Linked DNA regions of Homo sapiens: regions 1 and 3 are each linked to region 2. Evidence: promoter capture Hi-C in 16 types of primary human blood cells and fetal thymus (Javierre and others, 2016). All regions are on one chromosome and are shown on one strand. The core of a region is centred on a gene start or on the middle of the fragment in contact, and the rest is flanking DNA. Distances in the headings are between cores, read along the strand shown.

Region 1 (4,180 bases), core at 1,642-4,141, 130 kb before region 2:
CATCAAACTTCCCACGACATGTCATTTCATGCTGCTGACTTTTGAAATACAGAGCTTCCTACTGGAATGTCTTTCCTATTCTTCACTCAGCAAACTCTTCTTCATCCTTCAAAACCCAGCTCGAAGTCCCCTCTTCTGTAAAGCCTTCCCTGACTTCCTTAGGCAAAGTTATGAGCTCCCTCGTCTGCACTTTGGGGCCCTTGGGCACGCTGAGAGGCAGTGTGGTATAGTGGTTAGGTGGAACCACGTGGGTTGGATTTGAGTCTGGCTGCAGCATTTATTAGCTGTGCAATAGAAAAAGTATCTCACCTCTGTGTGCCTCAGTTTCCTCATCTGTAAAGCAGGGATGGTAATAATGCCAAGCTCCTAAGATTGTTGTGAGGATTAAATGAGTTGATTCAGGCAATGCACTTAGATAAGTTTCTGGTGTCTATAATAAACATTCAATGCATGATATTATAATAAATATTTGTGTATACATATGCTTCCACCATGAACCATGGGTCGTGAGACAAGGACTGTGGCTTTACAAAGAAAAAGTTTCTTGTCTTTATCCTCTCTGTTCAACGACACAGTAGTCTGCCAATAGAAGCTCATTAAGTGAATAAATGTGGGGTCGTGGTCCAGAAGGAAGGAACAGGCACATTGCAAAGAAAACAAAGTAAGAAGAGAAACCCCTCTAGATAAGGACTGACAAACAGGACCGGAGAAGAAAAGAATATGGTAATGAAAAGGGAGAAACAGAAGGTGAGGGCCAGGGCTCCTACAGTTGGGGGTGGATGGGGGAAAAGGGGGACAGGTGGCTAAGGGCAGAGGTCGGGGCTACATGTGTTTGTGGGGGGAGCAGCACCTGAATGAGGACCCAGAGGTGTTGGGGAGCCCTTCACAAAGTGTCTTTGCGAAGTAAAACATTTTTTTTTTAATCCAAATTCAAATAGGCAGTGAGTGACCTCAGGACCCAGCTCCGTGTCCTGGGAGCCATGGGCTAGGCAGGAGGCAGAGCTGGCTTGAGGCAGGGGTGAGGGAAAATATGTCTTCTTTATTATTATTATTTTTTGAGACGGAGTCTTCCCCTGTCACCCAGGCTGGAGTGCAGTGGTGCAATCTCGGCTCACTGCAACTTCTGCCTCCTGGGTTCAAGTGATTCTCCTGCCTCAGCCTCCCAAGTAGCTGGGACTACAGGCGTGTACCACCATGCTTGGCTAATTTTTGTACTTTTAGTAGAGATGGGGTTTCACTATGTTGGCCAGGCTGGTCTCAAACTCTTGACCTCATGATCTGCCCACCTTGGCCTCCCAAAGTGCTGGGATTACAGGCTTGAGCCACCGTGCCTGGCCAAAGATGTCTTCTTTAAATGGTGCTTAAGTGGTTTCTAAGGAAGTTGAGTCCTGATAATTACAGGACCCTTTGGCCAAGCCCAGGGATTGGTCAGGGAGGTTGGTTTTGGAGGGGAATGTGCCAGGAGCGGAGCTTCCTCTTATCCCCATCCCCGTCCCCACCCTTTTGGGTGGGAGTGTGTTCAAGAAGGATCTGTGAGAAGAGAATTTCTCTATATAGAACTGTAGGGATTTTTCTTTTTCTTTTTTAAAATTTATTTTTATTTTTATTTTTTGAGATGGAGTCTTGCTCTGTTGCCCAGGCTGGAGTGTAGTGGTGTGATCTCGGCTCACTGCAGCCTCCACCTCCCAGGTTCAAGCGATTCTCCTGCCTCAGCCTCCCAAGTAGGTGGGACTACAGGTGTGCGCCATCACACCTGGCTAGTTTTTGTATTTTTAGTAGAGACGGGGTTTCGCTATGTTGGCCAGGCTGGTCTTGAACTCCTGACCTCAAGTGATCTGCCCGCCTCGGCCTCCCAAAGTGCTGGGATTACAGGCGTTAAAAGGGGATTTTAGGCAGTTTGCTGAGATGTGTGTGATGTGAAAACTCTTCTTCTGTCCTCACCATGGATCTGCAGCATAGTCTACACTGCTCACAAATGGGTGAGTGGGTTATTTGGGGGGGACCTGAAGAAGGGCAGGGCTCTTGGGGCAAAACTGAGCTGCATATAGGGAAGCAGGGGTGGGAGGATGGGGGCTTGGGGTGGCTGGGCTACTCTGCAGCCTCAGCACCCTCCTTCTCTTGGGCGGGATGGGGCTGCTCCTCCACAGACCCCAGGGAGGTGTTCTCTCCTTGCAAATCATTGCTAAGACAACACGCTGTATCCCTAACCTGATCCCCCAGCCCAAACACACCCACATCCACACCCACGCGTGACAGACATGCATGACTAAAAAGCCACCTTAACTCTCATCTTTATAAGCACATGAGGATGGTGAGAGCTTACTGAAAACCCAGGAGAAGAGAGAGAATATTTGTTAAACACCCATTCGGTGTTGGGTCTTGAGCAGGTACCTAACATATATGATATAATTTCATCCTCATAACAGTCCGGCAGGGTGTGTTTTTTTGCCCCAATTTACAGACAAGAAAATTGAGGTTCAGAGAGAGAAACTCCCCTGCCACCCAGCTAGTGAACCAGGATTCATATCCAGACCAGCTCAACTTTTGGAGCACCCTGTAGTCTCCCTATGTGGCTTCCAAGGAGCCCAGGAAGGGTGAGTGCCACAGGGCCTGGAGAACTGGGTTTGGGTCCCACCTGTGCCACTCACTTGCTGTGTGGCTAAGGCGGGTGCTCACTTCCTCTGTTTTTCCCCTGTGTAACATGGGGTATGGCCTGTTAGATGGTTTCTTTTTGTTTGTTTGTTTTAGATACAGAGTCTTGCTCTATACCCCAGGCTGGAGTGCAGTGGCGTGATCTTGACTCACTGCAACCTCCGTCTTCGGGGTTCAAGCAATTCTCCTGCCTCAGCCTCCCAAGTAGCTGGGATTATAGGCGCCCGCCACCATGTCCGGCTAATTTTTGTATTTTTAGTAGAGATGGGTTTTCGCCATGTTGGCCAGGCTGGTCTCAAACTCATGACCTCAGGTGATCCACCGGCCTCGGCCTTCCAAAGTGCTGGGATTACAGGCCTGAGCCACCGCGCCCGGCCGTTAGATAGTTTCTAATAGCTCTGCCCTTTCCATGTGGACATGGTCCTGGCCAGCCACAAAGGGGAATGACAGAAGAGAGAAGGAAAGAAAGAAAGAGGTCGGTGTGGCTTCCGAGGCGCAGCAGCAGCAGCTCAGAGGAACAGGCAGAAGAAAGGCTCTGGCCTTCCCCCTCCAAGAAAGTGGGGTCTTACTACCCACAGGATGCCTGCAGGTCGCCGACCCAATTGTGCCCTCACAGCAAATGGACTCACAGCAGCCCAGGGCTTGATTTTTCCAGTTGAGCCCCATCTGCTGTGGGAACCCGGATGCCCCAGCTCAGCCCTCCTGCCAGCAGGGGGAGGGAGCGTCGGCTGCGGAGGGAGCTGGGATGCATGCGTGTGGGCAGCCAGAGGCCAGGCATGTGTGGACAAGATGGAGGGCGGCGGGAGAGCAGGGAGGGGTCTGCTGTGTTGCAGCCAGCAAAGAGCAATGTGGAGGAATCAGAACGGCTTCAGAAGCCACCAAGGCAGCGTATGACATGCTCTAAATAATGACCACCAGCGGGGAATACAAACAGAAGCCTCTTCGGCACAGAAGAGCCAGCCCCAAGCTCTGGCCTTTCGTGGAAGAGGCCTCTTTGCCCAGAAAGAAGGCAACAGGCCGGGCGCGGTGGCTCACGCCTGTAATCCCAGCACTTTGGGAGGCAGAGGTGGGTGGATCACCTGAGGTCAGGAGTTCGAGACCAGCCTGGCTAACATGGTGAAACCCCGTCTCTACTGAAAAAAACACAAAAATTAGCCGGGCATGGTGGTGCGTGTCAGTAGTCTCAGCTACTGGGGGTGCTGAGGCAGGAAGATAGCTTCAACTTGGGAGGCGGAGGTTGCAGTGAGCTGAGATCGCGCCACTGCACCCCAGCCTGGGCAACAGAGCAAGACTCCATCTCAAAAAAAAAAAAAAAAAAAAAGGCAACAGTGGGCAACCAGCAAATAGCACCATGCTTAGGCCACTAGACTTGGCAGGGCCCAGATCCAGGTGGGAAGGAAGCTGGTTTAGGAGCAAGCAGGGACTTCTACATTGGAGACGTTTCTTGAAGGAGGTATTTCTGGCTGGGTAGTGTCACAAACGGAATGGGGATTTTGGAGTTAGTCACACTTGACTTTGAATCCTCGCT
Region 2 (3,629 bases), core at 71-2,570:
CATTCTCACTGACACTTTTGGTCTTGCAAACCCCTCTGGAGTAGAGCCAATAGTCGGTTCCCACAGCTATGGTCATCAGGCTGAAGGCAGCGAAAGCACCAACGGTGGTTAAAAGCATTTGAACACCTCGATCAAACAGCCCCATAATTCTTCATTATATAAACACCCAACCGACTTCTGGTTCTCGGGAGAGTGTGTGTGAGGGTGCAAGTACTAAAGCCAAAAAAAATAAATAAAAATAAAAATTATTCCACTACTAATATAATGGATATATGTATGAATAGAGAATATGGAGAGTTATAAAAAAAGGGAGGTAAGAAAGCTCACGGAAAAGAGTGTAAATTATAAAGATCACACGGGAAGAGGCTTGCCTTTTGAGATCAGAAACTGTTCCAGTTGCAGTGTTTTTTTTTTAAAAAGAAAAGGAAAAAAAAAATAAAAAGACACCCCCCACCCCCCCAAGTGAGATGCCTTAATCTCTTTTTCTAAAATTCTGGTCTCCAGTTTCCATATGTGATAGTTAATTTGGAGATGGCTTCCACAGTGAACCAGGGAACAGCCGAATTCTCAACACCATTTCTCATGGTCGGGACCTAGACAGTTAGAGACTGTGAGAGCCGAGATGCAACCTTCGGTCTTCGTTCTCGGCTCTGCGGCCTGCGCCATGAAAATCCTTTGCTTCGCCAGTTCTCTTCCTTGGGGGGTCTCGGCGCTTTCGTTTCAGACCAGACTTCCCAGTATTCTGTAAGCCCTTGAGCTCAGCTGCACAGGTGCGGGGGTCTCGCTTTCCATGGTTTTGCCCGGGCAGCGGCGGCGGCGGCGGCGGCGGCGGCAGGGCGGGCAGGCGCGGCGGCGGCGGCGGCAGCAGGACGAGCAGCGGCGGCGGTTATTGTTGTTGGTGGCGGGGGTAGTGTTGGCGAAGTGGGGGAGAGAGGGGGTTTCTCCTGGAGAATCGAGGCGGATTTCCCTCCCCCTATCTGCAAAGCTCCTGGAAACGAGGGAGCCGGCGTCTTGCTGCAGGGTGGGCCGCGCGCCTGCCCCCCACTCGCTACCGGCTGGGCGCCCGCGGAGGCGCTCCCACCTACTGCATTACGGGTGGTGCTGAACCGGACAGCTCCCTGCGCCGCCCGCTCCGCGCGCTCCCCGGCTGGCTCCCAGGGCCGCCCGCCAGGAGGGGGGCGCTGGCCAGAGTCCTCCCTCCCCGGGGCAGCAAGGCCAGCGCAGAGCGGGGGCCGCCTTTCCTCTTTTTACCCCTCTCCCAAATCCTAAAATGAGCGCTCTCCTGGGCTCCCGGAGCTTAGAGGAAGGCGTAGCTAGAGATAGCTCGCGCTCTCTCTCTCTCTCTCTCTCTCTCTCTCTCTCTCTCTCTTTCTCTCTCTCTCTCTCTCTCTCTCTCCCCCCTTCCCTCCCCCCTTGGTGTTTCTTCCAGCTCAGCCTCCTTCTCATTCCATCTCTACGTGCCCAGAGCTTCAAATACAACCCTCCCATCACAGTCAGACGGGCACAAAACTTCAACCAGCCGTTTCTCTGCCTGGAAGCGGCGAACATGTAACCTGGACGGGTAATTACAAACACGTCTTTATGTGTTTTTTAAATCATTGTTTTCACTTTGCTTTGCTGGGGATTTGTTTTATTTTGTTGGTCCGTTAGATGTATCTTCTTTCGGTTTTCCTCTCTCTTCTCTTTGTCTCTCTCTGGCTTACCAGGGGGTGTGCATTGCTCTGTGTCTCTCTGTAGTTTTCCGTGAAATTCCAAATCTTGCTTCTACAAGCAGACATTTTGGGAAGATTATTCGTGGAAAAGGGTGCAAAAGGGCGACTCGTAGCTGGGGCTTGGGCAATGATTTTCATTGCAAGGATAAACATGTTCTCAGGGGAAGTGGGTGAAATGTGAATCCTTCTAAGTATCCTATGTCATTCATAAACTGGTTGGGAAGAGATAAAAAATCTTCCTTCCATGAACACTGGAACACCGAAACCCTCCCCTCTTTCTCAGAAGAATCATTGTTTGTGGGTTAATTACAGTGTCACCTTTCATTTCTCTTATGTGCAACTTTTCCTTAACGTGACCTCTGGTAGAAAGAAGCACATTAATTCCTGCTGCTACGGATTACATTTTTTTCTCTGATCACTTTTATGGTTAAGTGAGTAAGAGCACATGAGGCATGAGATGGGTTCATGTTTTTGATATTTTGTGTGTGTGTGTGTTGCGGGGGGGACCCTGGAGAGGATGTGAGTATGATGAGTCTATTGAGGCAGGGGGAGTTGAGAGGTTTCAATCCCATAATTCAATTATTCAGTACTTTCTTCTCTCTCCCTCTACTTTTTTTCTTGAGATTATTTGCTTGACATCTTTCTCAGTGGTCTGGTGATTATCAGAGGTATATAAAAGATGAGTGAATTAAAAACAGTCTTTCTTTGGTGTAAAGTCCATTGCCTAACTTCCTTCGCTCAGGTCAGAGTTGGTCTGCAGGTATGACCAGTGTATTTTTTTTGACATAGAAAAACTACCTGTTTCTTCGCCCAGCACAAAACTTCCTTTCTCCCACTCTGTTCTTTTCTTAGAAGGGAAAGGCTCCCATGAGGGGCAATTGCTGTGCTTCTGGTATCTGGGAGAGGGTCCTGGTGTCTGGAGAACAGAACCAAGATTTCCTCAACCTCTGCTAAGGTACCTTTGGGGTACAGCAAGAGCTATATTTGCAGGCTGAAGACTTCTCCACTTTGGTTTCTTGTCCTGTGAAGATGGGGATGGGTACAGGAATGGAGAGGGCTAATCTGCTGATCCCATACAGCAGGGAACCTAGCAAGTTCAGCCAGTGGCTCAGGTGGCTGATTTTCTTCTGTCCTTGAAGCAAAGGTGAGGGGCAGGCAACAAGTCCTCCTCTGAGATAGGCTAAGCTTTTGGGGGGAGTGGAGAGAAGGTTGGGGGTAGTCACATGAGCCAAAGAGCCTTGCCCTCACTTATTGCTGTCACCTTGGTTGTCTTTGACCTGTCCAAAAATCCCTTTAGACTGCAGATAGAGCCATTCTTCTCATCTCTCTCCCCCTTTCAGACCAACCCCTGAAGGTTTTGCTCAAAAGAAATCAGTAACAGAGGCTCAGAAGCTTCTGTTTGTCCACAGAATCTGCTAACATCTTAGCCACTGACAACGGCTGCAGCTTTAGCAGCATTTGATTAATCTTCTGGCCAGATGATCATTGAGAAAAGGGAAAGGGGTGGGGGAGGAAAGCAACAGCTTTTAGGCTGCCAGCATGGACAGTGCAGAGACTACTGGAGACAGAATGGGCCTGGGGCACAGCTTGACTCTGCTACTCAGTAATGGCATAGCTCCAAACAAGTTAAGTTCCTAGAGCCTCAGTCTTACCATATGTTAAATGGGCAGTTTAGCACCTACCTGTTCCTTTCTGAAGTTCTTCCCAGCTACTGCCAAGCCACCTATCCTATTCAGACCTCCACCATCGCACGTATAGCTCATAATTGTGTATGTGTTGTCTCTTTCACTTATTTGAAACCTCTTTGAGGTCAACAGCTGTGTCTTGTTCACTGTTATATCTTTGGGACCTGGAGTATAGCTTTATATATAGTAGATACTTGATGAACAATGGCTGGAGTGATCACAGTAAGGATTA
Region 3 (3,614 bases), core at 87-2,586, 160 kb before region 2:
GTCACAGAGCCAGGGCTGGCATTGTCCAGGGCACAGGTTCTTGGTTGCGCTGGCTCAAGCATCATCCCCATTCCCCGGGTAAGACTGTCCTCCCAAAACAGAGGTGGCTTCAAGCTGCTCTGTGATAAACACTTTTTTTTTTTTTTTTTTTTGAGATGGAGTCTGGCTGTGTCACCCAGGCTGGAGTGCAGTGGTGCAATCTTGGCTCACTGCAACCTCTGCCTCCCAGGTTCAAGTGATTCTTATGCCTCAGCCTCCCTAGTAGCTGGGATTACAGGTGCCTGCCACCATGCCTGGCTAATTTTTGTATTTTTAGTAGAGATGGGGTTTCACCACGTTGGTCAGGCTGGTCTCGAATTCCTGACCTCATGATCCGCCCGCCTCGGCCTCCCAAAGTGCTGGGATTACAGGCGTGAGCCACCGTGCCTGGCCGATAAATGCTTCTTAATGCTGTTGTTTATTCTGACTCCCTGCCACCAAGCAGTGCTGTGACACCGTGGATCCTCATGGAACTTGTGCTGTAGGGAAGCACGTGCTGGTTAGGCTGATGGAAGTGCTCCATTCTGCTGGTGGGGTATTTACTGTGCTCTCCAATAATAAATGGATCTTCTGCTATGCGTCAGCCTTGTAAGTTTGGTCAAAGGGAGTCTGCCACCGCCTTGTGTGCAGAAAGATCCCGGATATCCTGTGGTGGATTCACCTCATTGGGACCGGTCAGTGTGGCCAACCTCTCTTCCAGAGTGGCAACTTGCGTTTCCTTGCTTATCTTTTAAGAAGCACCATAGGAATCATCACCCCATTTTATAGACGAGAACACTGAGGCTCAGAGAGGAGGAATGTCTTGCCCCAGGTGAGCCAGCTGGTCAGGGTGCATTTGGAATGGAAACCCAGGTGTGGCTGAAACCAAAGCTGGCACTCTCCATGCACAATTCCAAAACCCACAAAGCTCTGAAAATCTAAAGCTTTTTCATGAGATTGGGGCAAGCATTTGATGGCAAACCTGATATGAATTGGATGTGAGGTTATTTATAGTCTTTATTTTGTCCCACTTAGCGTGAATATTTATACATTTTGCTGCAGAAAAATTAAAGGGTTTATGGAATATTGCTCCAGAGCTCACTGGCATGTCACCTGATATGCGGTAGATCCACTCGAAAACCTTTCAGGAATCCAAAGAATTCCAAGTTATAAAGCACATTGAGGCCGGATGTGGTGGCTTCAGACCTGTAATCCCAGCACTTTGGGAGCCCAAGGCGGGCAGCTCACCAGAAGTCAGTAGTTTGAGACCAGCCTGGGTGAAACCTCATCTCTACTAAAATACAAAAATTAGCCAGGCGTGGTGGTGGGTCCCTGTAATCCCAGCTACTGGGGGAGGCTGAGGCATGAGAATCGCTTGAACCCAGGAGGTGGAGGTTACAGTGAGCCAAAATCGGGCCACTGCACTCCAGCCTGGCCGACAGAGTGAAACTGTGTCTCAAAATAAATAAAATATAAAATAAAATACATAAATTGATAAAGCACATTGAGCCGCGAGGATTTCAGATAAGAAATTGTGGAGCTGTGCTACCTGTACCAAACTTTTCTGTCTCGGTTAGGCAGAGATCACTACCCCCATTCTGCAGATGAGGAAGACTGAGGGCAAGGAACATGGTGTCCCAGGTAGGACGGCAGCCATTTTATCATCCTGTTGGAGGCTGTGCCAGCAGGAAAGGAAGCTTTGGAGCCACCAGCCCACCCCAGCCTCCCAAGAACCTTGTTGTCTCAGCAAAATTTCAGAACTAGAAAACCTGGAAAGATTAAAGCCCCAAAGAATGCCACAAGTCCCCCAGGAAGAAAGGGAGGCTTTGCTGTGCGTTCCAGTGGTCGACATTCTAAATCATTTTTTATTTCAGCTGCATGTACACTCACCCATCACAGGACCAGTTCTCAGAATAGAGAGGTACCTGTTGAATCATCCACCCTACTTCCTGCCTCGTGTGGGCATGTCTCCAAGTGCTGAGCCATCCGCTTCGCTGCCGTGGCCTGAGATATATCAGGATTTGCAGGCCTGGCGACAGGAGACAAAATAGATTCCCATTTCCTTCAGAACCATTTAGCTAGTTTAGAGAGTGTTTGACTGTTTCAATGGGATGAGCAATAACCAGGCCTCTCCTTGGCTCCTTCTCTCTGCCCCATATGTTTTCTTCTGTTGGAAGCTGGGATTTGGGGTCTTAGGGCCAAAGATAAATACTGATTTTGGCTCGATCTGGCCGCACAGCTGTGGGCTAGTAGGTGCCCCTCTCTGAACCTCAGGCCCCCACTTTCTGCAGCACAGTGTTGTTCTCATCTCTGTTTTTTTTTTTTTTTTTTTTTTTTGAGATGGAGTCTCTCTCTGTTGCCTAGGCTGGAGTGCAGTGGTGCGATTTCAGCTCACCGCAACCTCCATCTCCTGGGTTCAAGCAATTCTCCCCACCTCAGCCTCCCGAGTAGCTGGGATTGCAGGTGCCTGCCACCAGGCCCAGCGGATTTTTGTGTTTTTTAGTAGAGACAGAGTTTCACCATGTTGGCCAGGCTGGTCTCGAACTCCTGACCTCAGGTGATCCGCCCTCCTCAGCCTCCCAAAATGCTGAGATGACAGGCATGAGCCACCGCATCCGGTCTCTCATCTCTTCATACCACATGCCTTGGTTCCCACTGCCCCGGCGGGTGCCTGGAGAGCCTTGTGGCTGGGGCTGAGTGACCGCAAGGTGATATTTAAGGTGGTCTCATGGAGCAGTCTGACATCACTGTAATGCAAGCAGACATCTGGGGAGTCAGACTGACTGAATTTGAATTCCAGCGATTTAAATTTTTACCACTGTTGTGTGACCTTGGGCAAGTTGTGTGACCATTTGAGCCATAGCTTCTTCATCTGTAAAATAGATGGAATCATAGCATGTACCACTTCGGGAGGGAGGGAGAATAGAATTAGGTCAGATTTTATATGTGACATGCTTAAGGCAGTGCCTGGCATGCAAATAAGCCCTTGATACATGCCAGTGGGGTTACTCTGGTTACCAGAAACTTGGAAGTAGGGGCTTTGGCTGGGGCAAGATCTCGCAACATTTAAAAAGCAATCACTGACCGGGCACCGTGGCTCATGTCTGTAATCCCAGCACTTTGGGAGGCCGAGGCAGGTGGATCACGAGGTCAGAAGATCGAGACCATCCTGGCTAACACGGTGAAACCTCGTCTCTACTAAAAATACAAAAAATTAGCCGGGTGTGGTGGTGGGCGCCTGTAGTCCCAGCTACTCGGGAGGCTGAGGCAGGAGAATGGCATGAACCCGGGAGGCGAAGCTTGCAATGAGCCAAGATCATGCCACTGCACTCCAGCCTGGGTGACAGAGAGAGACTCCGTCTCAAAAAAAAAAAAAATAAATAAATAAAAAGCAATCACTGGTCACTCGTGAGGAACCAGGCCCCGAGTTGGTCACTCAGCGTTCAGGTGGAGACCTTGCCATGCTATCAAGTAACCTAGAGTCTATTTTTTTTTTTAAGATGGAGTTTCACTCTGTCGCCCAGGCTGGAGTGCAATGGCACGATCTTGGCTCACTGCAACCTCTGCCTCCCATGTTCAAACGATTCTCCTGCCTC

Evidence for each region. Contacts are between HindIII fragments. The CHiCAGO score rates a contact against its expected background, and 5 or more counts as called.
Region 1: a contact is called between a fragment that was not itself captured here and the fragment with the promoter of CACNG2 in region 2, in 2 of 17 cell types (M1 macrophages and M2 macrophages). The highest score is 5.8, in M1 macrophages.
Region 3: a fragment that was not itself captured here is called in contact with the fragment with the promoter of CACNG2 in region 2 in 1 of 17 cell types (M1 macrophages); the score reaches 5.6 in M1 macrophages.

Annotation. Positions count from the first base shown.
Region 1 is chr22:36,566,811-36,570,990 of GRCh38, forward strand. The region is part of intron 2 of CACNG2 (calcium voltage-gated channel auxiliary subunit gamma 2); the gene reads right to left. Among named protein-coding and RNA genes, the nearest start is that of EIF3D, 40 kb to the left of the region's middle. RefSeq lists an enhancer at 3,542-4,133. The HindIII fragment of the contact is 9,308 bases long and covers 1-4,180 here.
Region 2 is chr22:36,702,432-36,706,060 of GRCh38, forward strand. It overlaps CACNG2 (calcium voltage-gated channel auxiliary subunit gamma 2), which reads right to left and starts at 1,321. Exons shown (of 4, transcript NM_006078.5): 1 at 1-1,321. The coding sequence starts at 145. It overlaps CACNG2-DT (CACNG2 divergent transcript), which reads left to right and starts at 1,445. Exons shown (of 4, transcript NR_134623.1): 1 at 1,445-1,561. The HindIII fragment of the contact is 12,752 bases long and covers 1-2,895 here.
Region 3 is chr22:36,540,264-36,543,877 of GRCh38, forward strand. No RefSeq gene overlaps it. Among named protein-coding and RNA genes, the nearest start is that of EIF3D, 13 kb to the left of the region's middle. The HindIII fragment of the contact is 753 bases long and covers 961-1,713 here.